Linked DNA regions of Homo sapiens: region 2 is linked to region 1. Evidence: promoter capture Hi-C in human tissues and cell types (Jung and others, 2019). All regions are on one chromosome and are shown on one strand. The core of a region is centred on a gene start or on the middle of the fragment in contact, and the rest is flanking DNA. Distances in the headings are between cores, read along the strand shown.

Region 1 (5,149 bases), core at 134-2,633:
AACAAACAAACAAAAAACCGGAAATTTATTTTCTCAGTGTGGAGACTAGAAGCCCCAAGTAAGGTCGAGTTGGGTTCGTTTCTGACTAGGACTATATTCTAACCTTAATTACTTCCATAAAGGCCTTATCTCTAAATACTCTCCAAATACAATGGAGGTTAGGGCTTCAAGATAAATTTTGGGGAATCCAAACATTCGGTTCATAACAGCTAGCAAGTACTATAATTGTATTCTATTTCCTCATTTGTTGTTTTTGTAAACTGTTGATGTAGAAATGTATTTGGAGTGATGTACTCAAATTTTGTTGGAGGGAGAAAACTCAGCAATAAAACAGCATTACAGTATAATCGCTTTTGTGGAAAATATATAACAATGCATGAAATACGTTGTGTGTGTGCAGGAAAGGTTGTACACCAACTGTTAGCAAGGTTACCGCTGCTTGCTGAAATTACAGGCAATAATTTTTTTGTTTTTGTGTATTTTCTGGCATTTCAGAAATACAAGGTAAGCAATAAACATGAGAACTTTTATTGAATACTAGAAGAGAAAACTGTTGTGGTATTCTTTTAACAATATACCGGAATCCATTCAACTGTCTGCTGAGAATAAATAACTGGCATGTACATAATATTTAGGGAAAGTGCTATGGATTATTTTACACCAGTGTCGTTTCACCAAAAAACGTGATGCCGATGGCTCCCTTTTGTCACGGGTTTCAAAGGCTCACCCTAACGTTCACGTGCATTTTCCCAGCGGAGGAAAGATGGTTGTTCTTCATCAGAGTCTGGGGCCCAAGAACGCAGGCTCCATCTCCTCCCGCAGGAGCCAGGCTGATGATGCTCGCAGGGATCGGATACTGGGAGCCCCTGAACGCAGCCAACCCGGCGCGCACCGGTGGGGGCGTCTGCGCTGGCGGAGCGGCTCCCCGGGAGGACGCTGGGAACCATGCTCTAGCCAGCCGCTGCGCAGGCGCACTGGGCCCCGACTGCCCGCCGCAGCGCTACGTGGGAGCTTGGCCGCGCAGTGCCGGAACCCGGCTGCAGCGGTGGGAAGGCGGGGGCGTGCCGGCCCAGCGGGGAGAGGGTGAGCGGGTGGCTGTCCCGGGCTTGGGGAGCTGGGCGAGCCGGGAAGCGCGAGTTCCGCCCGCGGCCACCCTGTCGCGCGCGGTGCTCTCCGCAGCCCCGGAGTCGTGCTCAGACAAAGGCTGGGAGGCTAGGGCCGGGGGCGTTTTGCTTTGTGGGGAGGACTTAGCCTCTCATTTGGGGAGGAGGAGGCGGGGTCTAGCGGTTTCGCGGTTTGCTACAGCCGACTAGTGAAAGAGCTGGGATTCCAAATCCCCGGCTACTTTACACATAATTACTGCCCCAAACAAAGAATTGGGTTGTATTCGTCTCTTTGTGCTTCCTGACATGTGCGCGGTGCTTTGAATTTTGTGGGCTGTGTCTGCCCACCGTCTCCGTGTATCTTTTGGAAACATTTTACAGTGATCCATATATGTTCTAGCGTTCTGCCCTATGACTGAGCCTCCTTAGTCCTTTGCTGATTCTAATGTCTTCTGCTCAGCATCTGCAGGGGCTGCTGAGAGTAAATACTTGGCGCCTCCAGCTGCTGGCCAAGGAGACAGATGGAGCTCAAGTTGGGAGATACGCCCTGAGAGCCGATGATAGACACAAGTCCAGATCTCGGATTTTGATACTGTATGTTCCCTGGGTTCCTGAGAGAGGACATTGAGGAGTAGGAGTCGGCGATTAAGGAGATCGGTACAATTGGGAAGCCTCCTGTCAGAGCTTCCAGCAATTTCCTCATCAGAGGTGGACAAGCCCTATGGGCTAAGACAGAGGGTCCTCAGAAAGGAGTGCGGACGCCGTCATGCTGCAGCAGCTCCTGATCACCCTGCCCACCGAGGCCAGCACCTGGGTGAAGTTGCGTCATCCAAAGGCGGCCACGGAGCGGGTGGCCCTGTGGGAGGATGTGACTAAGATGTTTAAAGCAGAAGGTAAGAATAAACTGATGGGTGGGAGGGAGGAAAAGCAGTCCCCTCTAGTGTGAGAAGGAATGAGTCACTTGAGTGGAAGCATCTCTTAGGGAGACGAGTGGGTGGAGGGTTTCCGGAGTTGTTGATTGTGGCTCCTAGTCTGGGGTTTTCCTAAGTAGTGGTGGTCTTTTCAGCCTAGGACCAGTATTTCAGTGTCATGGTTATGTATATTATTTATTTTCATCTTTCCCATGGCCATGTGGGGCAGGATGGACTTAACCTGATTTTTCTTATTCTAACAGTGGGGAAATGTAAATCAAATGGGAGGCCTGCCCAGGGTCACACAGGAACTTGGTGGCTAGGTCAGAAAGAGAAGCAGCAGGGGAAGTACCAGGTGAGCCTGGAGTAACTTGTGCTAGAAAGCAAGGAAGAGCTTAAAGACTATGGATATGTGTCAAAAGAGGCCAGGTTTAAGGGTCTCTCACTCGACAGATTTGGGAAAGCTTAAGTATCCAAACTGATGGTAACACCTTGAATAAGTAAAATTCCACATGATCACCTTGACACTTAAAATAGAGAAAGACGTGGGGGGGGGGGAATTCATTTGCAAACATTGGAGGTAATTAATACACTGATTCCTTACTTTGAAAAATAGGTTATTATGGGAATGAATGTGCATTTACCTTGCCTTTTAGATCCTCTTCAGTTGGTGAGGGAAAGCTTTTTACAGAAAATGCGTGCCAATAATGAAGGTAGAAAGAGGCCAGGTGTGGTGGCTCATGCCTGTAATCCCAGCAATTTGGGAAGCCAAGGTGGGCGGATTGCTTGAGACCAGGAGTTTGAGGTCAGCAGTTTGAGACCAGCCTGGCCAACATGATGAAACCCCATCTCTGCTAAAAATACAAAAATTAGCTGGGCGTGGTGGCACATGCCTGTAATCCCAGCTACTCGGGAGGTTGAGGCACGAGAATCGCTTGAACTAGGAAAGGGGAGGTTTCAGTGAGCTGAGATGGCGCCACTGCACTCCAGGCTGGGTGACAGAGCAAGACCTTGTCTCAAAAATAAATAAATAAATAAATAAATGTAGAAAGAATGATAGAATCTTTTACCGTAAATAAAATAATTGAAAGGTTAATGGGGAACAGATACTCACATGATATCAAAGTATTATCCCCTCAAATTACTTACTAAATGGCAAGGAATGAACATAATTTTCCAATAGTGAGGTGTGGTGGTCACAGTTTTAATCAAATGTCTCAGTAATGGGATAGCCGGGCATTTTATACTTTGCAGATACTGTAATATAAAGCACCTGGTACCACCTACAAGGTATTCCTACCAAAAATGTTGAACATGATCCTAAATTAAGTTTAAAGACTGAACTGCTGGTTTACAGAAAATACAGGGGATGGAGAAATGAGATAAACCTCACATTGAGGATACAGTCAGACTGTTCTTGTATCTTAAAAAGACAACATCATGAAGAAAGGGGAAGTACTTATTCTAGAGTAAAAGAGACTAGAGGTAACAACCACTTTGAATGTGTGAGCCTTGATTAACTCCTGGTTTGGAAAAAATCCAGAATAAAAGTTGAGGAAACAGTTGAGGAAATCTGAATATGGACTGAATATTTAGATGATACTATGGAATTATTGTTAATTTTCATAGATTTAATAAATAGTACTGTGGTTGTACAAGAGAAGATCCTTATTTGAAATATTTAGGGATAAAGTATTATGATGCAGACGACTTTGAAGTGCTTCAGAAAAAATGTAGATAGGTAAAGCAAATATGGTAAATATTAACAATTGTTGAATCTAGATGTGGATGTATAGATGTTCAATATTCATGATAAAAAGTTGGAATAAAATACAAAGACAGTTATTCATGTGCCTTAATTCCTAGTGGTTTTTTTTTTTTTTTTTTCCTGTCACCCAAGCCGGAGTTCAATGGCTCGATCTTGGCTTATTGCAACCTCTGCCTCCCGGGTTCAAGTGATTCTCCTGCCTCAGCCTCCCAAGTAGCTGGGATTACAGGCGCCTGCCACCACGCCCAGCTAATTTTTGTATTTTTAGTAGAGACGGTGTTTTACTATCTTGGCCAGGCTGGTCTCCAACTCCTGACCTCGTGATCCACCCACCTCAGCCTCCCAAAGTGCTGGGATTACAGGCTTGAGCCACCGGGCCTGGCCTGTAGTGCATATTTTTAATACCTCAATTCAGCCAGTGTTACTTAAATTCTAGAAAGCTGGCAGTGTGTTATGTGTAGCACTTTAGCAGATGGAGAAAAATGAGCAAGGTACAGTTTCTATCCATACCCTCATTAATACTCAACTGAGAGAGATAATTAATTATAAAAAGCAACCTGAGATAGATACTAGAATAGATATAAAAACCAAGCTTTTGGGAAGCATAGGAGAGAATAAACTTTCTTCTCATTAAGGGTGTCTGGGAAAACTTTACTTGAACTGGGCCTGAAGGGTATCGCAGTTTTTCACCAAATAGGATTTGGGTGGGGTACTATCCACATGTATTCAAAGAATGGTACCAGGATTGTGTGGGTAGGTGTGTCCAGTGGATGAAGGATAATGTTTAGAGGAGATAATACTTGGAGAAGCCATGGACTGGTTGTGGAGGATCTTGAAATCTATGTTGATTAGTTGGGCGTGGTGTCACACGCCTGTAATCCCAGCTACTCGGGAGGCTGAGGCACGAGAATCTCTTGAACCTGGGAGGTGGAAGTTGCAGTGAACCAAGATTATGCCACTGCCCTCCAACCTGGGTGACAGAGCAATACTCTGTCTCAAAATCATAATAATAATTAAAAAATAACAAAAAAGAAATCTATATTGAAGTGTTTGCATTTTTCTTTCATGTCAGTGGGGAAACCTTTGAGGATTTTTGAACAAAAGATTGGCCTGAGAGATTACTAAGACCATTGGGAAATATTAATGGTGAAAGCAGCTTGCAGCAGGTCCTCCTTATTAAGGAGGCTTTGAGCTGCTCTTGAGTCCGTCTAAATGTCCCTGTTTGTGAACGTTTTTGGGGAGAAGCCACAATGAGTGGGTCTGTAGGCAGTTTCTCTGTTTGGGTGATTTGGGGAGATGCAAACCTCATGGCTCTTTTCCTTCCCCAGCTCTGCTGTCTCAGGATGCTGATGAGACCCAGGGCGAAA
Region 2 (5,268 bases), core at 489-2,988, 220 kb after region 1:
AGACATGAACCAAATCACCCCCTAAATAATTGTATAATAAAAACTGGGTTAGATGCTATGGGAGGGACTGGCCTAGACAGGGAGATCTTTGAATGCTCCCCAAGGCATCCCATCTGAAGCTTGAATAGCAGTCAGCCAGATCAACAAGCCAAGGATGGGTAAGAGCTTACACAAAGGCCCTGAAGTTGCTTCTCTGAGTTTCTGTTTCCTTGTCTGTATAATGGGAATATTTAGAGTTATGAGGATTAAATGAGTTAATATGTGTAAAGTTCTTAGAACAGACCTTAGGATATAAATTTTCCATAAGTGTTAGTTATAATTTTATATATATATATATATATATATATATATATATATTTGAGATGGAGTCTCACTCTGTTACCCAGGAGGCAGTGGCGTGATCTCTGCTCACTGCAATCTCCGCCTCCCAGGTTGAAGCAATTCTTCTGCCTCAGCCTCCTGGGTAGCTGGGATTACAGGCATGTGCCACTACGCCTGGCTAATTTTTGTGTTTTTTGTAGAGATGGGGTTTCACCATATTGGCCAGGCTAGTCTTGAATCCTGATCCACCCACCTCAGCCTCCCAAAGTGCTGGGATTACAGGAGTGAGCCACTGCGCCTGGCCAATAACTTAATAATATATATTTTTTTAAGTGGAGAGATATTGGAAATCTTTCAGCAAAGGAGTTAAAGGAGAAAGTAGCATTTTTTAAATGTCACTCCAGCTGCAATGAGGAGCATGGATTAGTACAAAGAAAGAGCAGATTTGGGGAAACTAATGAGACTTTTGCAGGGGTCCATTGAGAGCTATGGGGATTTGGGCTAGGGAGGCAGAGGGAAATTGGAGAGATTTTGTGGTTTAGGTAGTAGACACTGCTGGACTTGCTGTTTTATTGGTAGTGGGAGGCTGTAGGAGGTAGGTGGTCCCTACAACTGGTTGGGTGGTGATGTTCTTCACCAAGACAGGGAAGCCTGAATGATGCCTAGGCCTTGGGGGGGATGCTGATTCTGGATGTGTTTAGATGCACACACTGTGGGACATCCCAGATGAGGGCTGCATAGGCAGCTGATTCACTGTGGAGTTCAGAAGAGAAACTGTGGCTGGAGATACAAAACTAAGATTGTTGGTGATATGGTTTGGATCTGTGTTCCCACCTAAATCTCATGTCAAATTTGTAATCCCCAGTGTTGGAGGTGGGGCCTGGTGGGAGATGATTATACTAGGGGTGGTTTCTCATGAATGGTTTAGCACCATCCCCTTGGTGCTCTTCTCATTATAGTGAGTGAGTTCTCATGAGATCCAGTTGTTTAAAAGTGTGTGGCACCACCCGACCACTCTGTCTTGCTCCTGCTCCTGCCATGTAAGACGCGCTGGCTCCCCCTTTGCCTTCAGCCATGATTGGAAGCTTCCTGAGGCTTCCCCAGAAGGCAAGCAGATGCTAGTATCATGCTTCCTGTACAGCCTGTGGAACTCTGAGCCAATTAAACCCCTTTCCTTTCTTTTCTTTTTTTTTTTTTTTTTTTGATGGAGTCTCACTCTGTCACCTAGGCTTAGGCTGGAGTGCAGTGGCGTGATCTCAGCTCACTGCAACCTCCACCTCCCAGGTTCAAGGGATTCTCCTACCTCAGTCTCCCAAGTAGCTGTGACTACAGGCATGTACCACCATGCCCAGCTAATTATTTTTGGTAGAGACAGGGTTTTACCATGTTGCCCAGGCTGGTCTCGAACTCCTGATCTCAAGTGATCTGCCCACCTCAGCCTCCCAAAGTGCTGAGATTACAGGCATGAGCCACCGTGCCCAGCCTCCCTTTTCTTTATAAATTACCCAGTCTCAGGTATTTCCTTATAGCAATGCAAGAACAGACTAATACAGTTGGCAAATAAGTGATCACCTCAATCACCCCATCTTTGAGATGGTAGAGGTAGGAGATAGCTAGATGATTTTTTTTTTTTTTTTTTTTTTGAGACGGAGTCTCGCTCTTTCACCCAGGCCGGACTGCAGTGGTGCTATCTCGGCTCACTGCAAGCTCCGCCTCCCGGGTTCACACCATTCTCCTGCCTCAGCCTCCTGAGTAGCTGGGACTACAGGTGCCCGCCACCACGCCCAGCTAATTTTTTGTATTTTTAGTAGAGACGGGGTTTCACCGTGTTAGCCAAGATGGTCTCGATCTCCTGACCTCGTGATCCACCTGCCTCGGCCTCCTAAAGTGCTGGGATTACAGGCGTGAGCCACCGTGCCTGGCCGCTAGATGATTTTTAAGGTTTCTTCTGGTTCAAACACGCATAGGATTCCAAGTGTTAAGGTCAGTAGGACTCCAGAGACAGAGAGAAAATCGATGTGGTCTGAAAGACTTGGCAGAAGCTCCTTGGAGGCTATTTGTTATTCATTCATCAGTCTTTTACTGAGCAGCTACTCTGAGCCACATGCTCTATTGGGGGTGGAAGGGTAAATAAGACCTAGCCGCCAAACCAGTGTGGTGGCTGACATTTGTAATTTCAGCTACTCAGGAGGCTGAGGCAGAAGACTGCTTGAGTCCAGGAGTTCAAGGCTACAGTAAACTGATTGTATCACTGCACTCCAGCCTAGGTGACAGGGTAAGACCCCATCTCTGGAGAAAAAAAAAAAAAAAAGGCCGGGCATGGTGGATTACAGGCTGTGATTATGCCTGTAATCCTGGCACTGTGGAAGGCCAAGGCAGGTGGATTGCTTGAGGTCAGGAGTTCAAGACCAATCTGACCAACATGGTGAAAACCTGTCTCTACTAAAAATACAAAAATTAGCGGAGCGTGGTGGCAGGTGCCTGTAATCCCAGCCACTTGGGAGGCTGAAGCAAGAGAATTGCTTGAAACTGGGAGGCGGAGGTTGCAGTGAGCCAAGAATGCACCACTGCACTCCAGCCTGGAGACACAGCAAGGCTCCATCTCAAAAAAAAAAGCATCTCAGGGTCTCAGGCTTGTTAGACCAAGGAATGTTTCCTAAAGGAAGTAACAACTAAGATTAAGACCCAAAAGTCAGGTAAAAGAAAGCTCCCTCCTCTTGAATTTTTCACTTTAGACTTTACCATGCACTCTCAGAGTCCATTCCAGGAACAAAGGCCCAGGCAATAGCAGTTGCACTTCCTAGGTTCTGCTGAATTTTCCTTCTTCTCTGAGATCCTTCTTCTCAATGTTCCCTCTGGCCTCATCTTCACATTCTCCGCCAGGGCTAGGAATAGGGTCAGGGCAAAGGGACCGAGGGTACAGAAGTAGGGAGGCGCTCACTCATGGGTCGTGCAATGTGCTCCTGGCCCTCTTCCCACTCACACCCCCACTCTAGCTTTTCCCTGTACTCTGCTGGCATCTTGCTATTCCCACATGTGGCTTCCTCTGTTTACAGTGAGCCTTGCCAACACTTGACTGAGGAAAGCTTGCTCATGATGAGCTCAGATGTCACCTCCTCCTGGAAGTCCACTGCTTTCTCCAGTCGTCCCTGTCCTTCTACCTAGGCCAAGATGGTCCCCTGTGCTCTAACAGCATGGTGAAGACTGCACAGTGGTTAACAGAACAGGCTTTAGCATCAGAGCCCTGCTGTGCTGTTTATTATCTGTGGATCACTCTCTGAGCCTGTTTCCTTCCACATGTGTGAAATGTGGTGCTGGCATCACAGGGGAGTTGTAAAGATTAAATGAGAAAACATATGTAAAGTGATCAGCAGTGACTGGTATACGTACCAGTCAGATACATGATATAATAAAGATAAAGACAAGAAAATAATGAGAATAAATGAACACTTTAGAAGATGCATAAACAATAACAGTAGCTACCGCTTACAGTAAGTGGTTATTGTTTATACTTCTTCTAAAGTGCTCATGTTTTCTAATTATTTTCCTGCCTTTATCTTCATTATATCATAAGCTTCTGGGGGCAAGAAGGAAGAAGAGGAGGAGGAAGAAGATATTCATAATTGACATTTAACAAGCATTACGACATGTCTGCTGAATAAAGAAATGACAATTTCATGGGAAATGTTCTGGGCAGGAAATCTGGAATCCTGAGCTCCAATCACATGGTCCTAGTGATGGTACAGTTTCTGCCTCACTCACATTCACTTTAAGGAAAAGCTGCCCAGACCACAAACCCTGCTGGGGCCACGCTTTAAACCACCTGGCCCCTCCAGCCTCTAGACTTGAGCAGATAGGGCCAGCACCGGAGTCAAGGGTCACCATTTAATATATTAGCTGCTGTCCTCTGACCAATGGTGTATACTATGGTGTGAATGTGTTCCCCAAGGTTCATGTGCTGGAAACTTAATCCCCAAGGCAACAGTGTTGAGAGGAGGGACCTTCAGGAGGTGATTAGGTCATGGGGACTCTGCCATCATAAATAAATTAATGACGATATTGAGGGAGTGGGTTCCTGATAAAAGGATGCATTCAACCCCATTTCTTCTTCTCTCTCTCTTTCTCTCTCCCCTTCTCTCTGTCCCTCTCATGCTGTCTTGCTCTCTTGCCCTTCACCTGCTGCCATGGAATACACAGCAAGAAGGCCCTTGCCAGGTGTGCACCCCTAAACCTTAGACTTACCAGGCTTTAGAGCTGTAAGAAATATATTTCTATACCTTATAAATTACCTAGTTTCAGATATTCTGATATAGCAGCACAAAATGAACTAAGACAACCTAGCACAACAATCTAAGATGGGCTGATTCGAGGCTTTATTGAACCAAGGAAGAGAAAGACATTGTTGTCCCAGGCATGGCGCCTCACACACAAAACCCCAGAACTTCGAGAGGTCAAGGTGGGAGGATCAGTTAAGCCCAGGAGCTCAAGACCAGCCTGGACAACAGTGAGACTTTGTCTCTACGAAAGGAAAAAAAATTTTTTTTAATTAGCCAAGCATGGTGGTGCATGCCTGTATTCTCAGCTACTTTGGAGGCTGAGGTGGGAGGATCATTTGAGCCTGGGAGGCAGAGGTGGCAGTGAGCCAAGATCGTGCCATGCCACTGCACTACAGCCTGGGTGATAGAGTGAGACCCTGTCTCAGGAAAAAAAAAAAAGGAAAGAAATTGTCAGGTGGCAGAAGGAGTTGAAGTAGAGAAGTCAGAGACAGCCAGGTATGGTGGCTCATGCCTGTAATTCCAACCGGTTGGGAGGCTGAGGCAAGTGGATCACTTGAGTCCAGGAATTCATGACCAGCCTAAGCAACATGGCAAAGCCCTGTCTCTACAAAAAATATAAAAATTAGGCTGGGTACGGTGGCTCATGCCTGTAATCCCAGCACTTTGGGAG

The links. The method cuts DNA at HindIII sites, captures the fragments that hold promoters and counts their contacts. A contact is called where the count stands out against the background at its distance.
Region 2: a contact is called between a fragment that was not itself captured here and the fragment with the promoter of ZFP69B in region 1, in 2 of the 25 tissues and cell types used here (adrenal gland and pancreas).

Annotation. Positions count from the first base shown.
Region 1 is chr1:40,449,093-40,454,241 of GRCh38, forward strand. ZFP69B (ZFP69 zinc finger protein B) reads left to right here and starts at 1,384. Exons shown (of 5, transcript NM_023070.3): 1 at 1,384-1,996; 2 at 5,111-5,149. The coding sequence starts at 1,870. It overlaps ZFP69B-DT (ZFP69B divergent transcript), which reads right to left and starts at 947. Exons shown (of 5, transcript NR_198977.1): 1 at 728-947. RefSeq lists a silencer at 1,003-1,262 and an enhancer at 1,478-2,677. The HindIII fragment of the contact is 23,553 bases long and covers 1-3,534 here.
Region 2 is chr1:40,670,253-40,675,520 of GRCh38, forward strand. It overlaps a transcript of RIMS3 not described here. Among named protein-coding and RNA genes, the nearest start is that of RIMS3, 7.2 kb to the left of the region's middle. The HindIII fragment of the contact is 3,826 bases long and covers 1-3,651 here.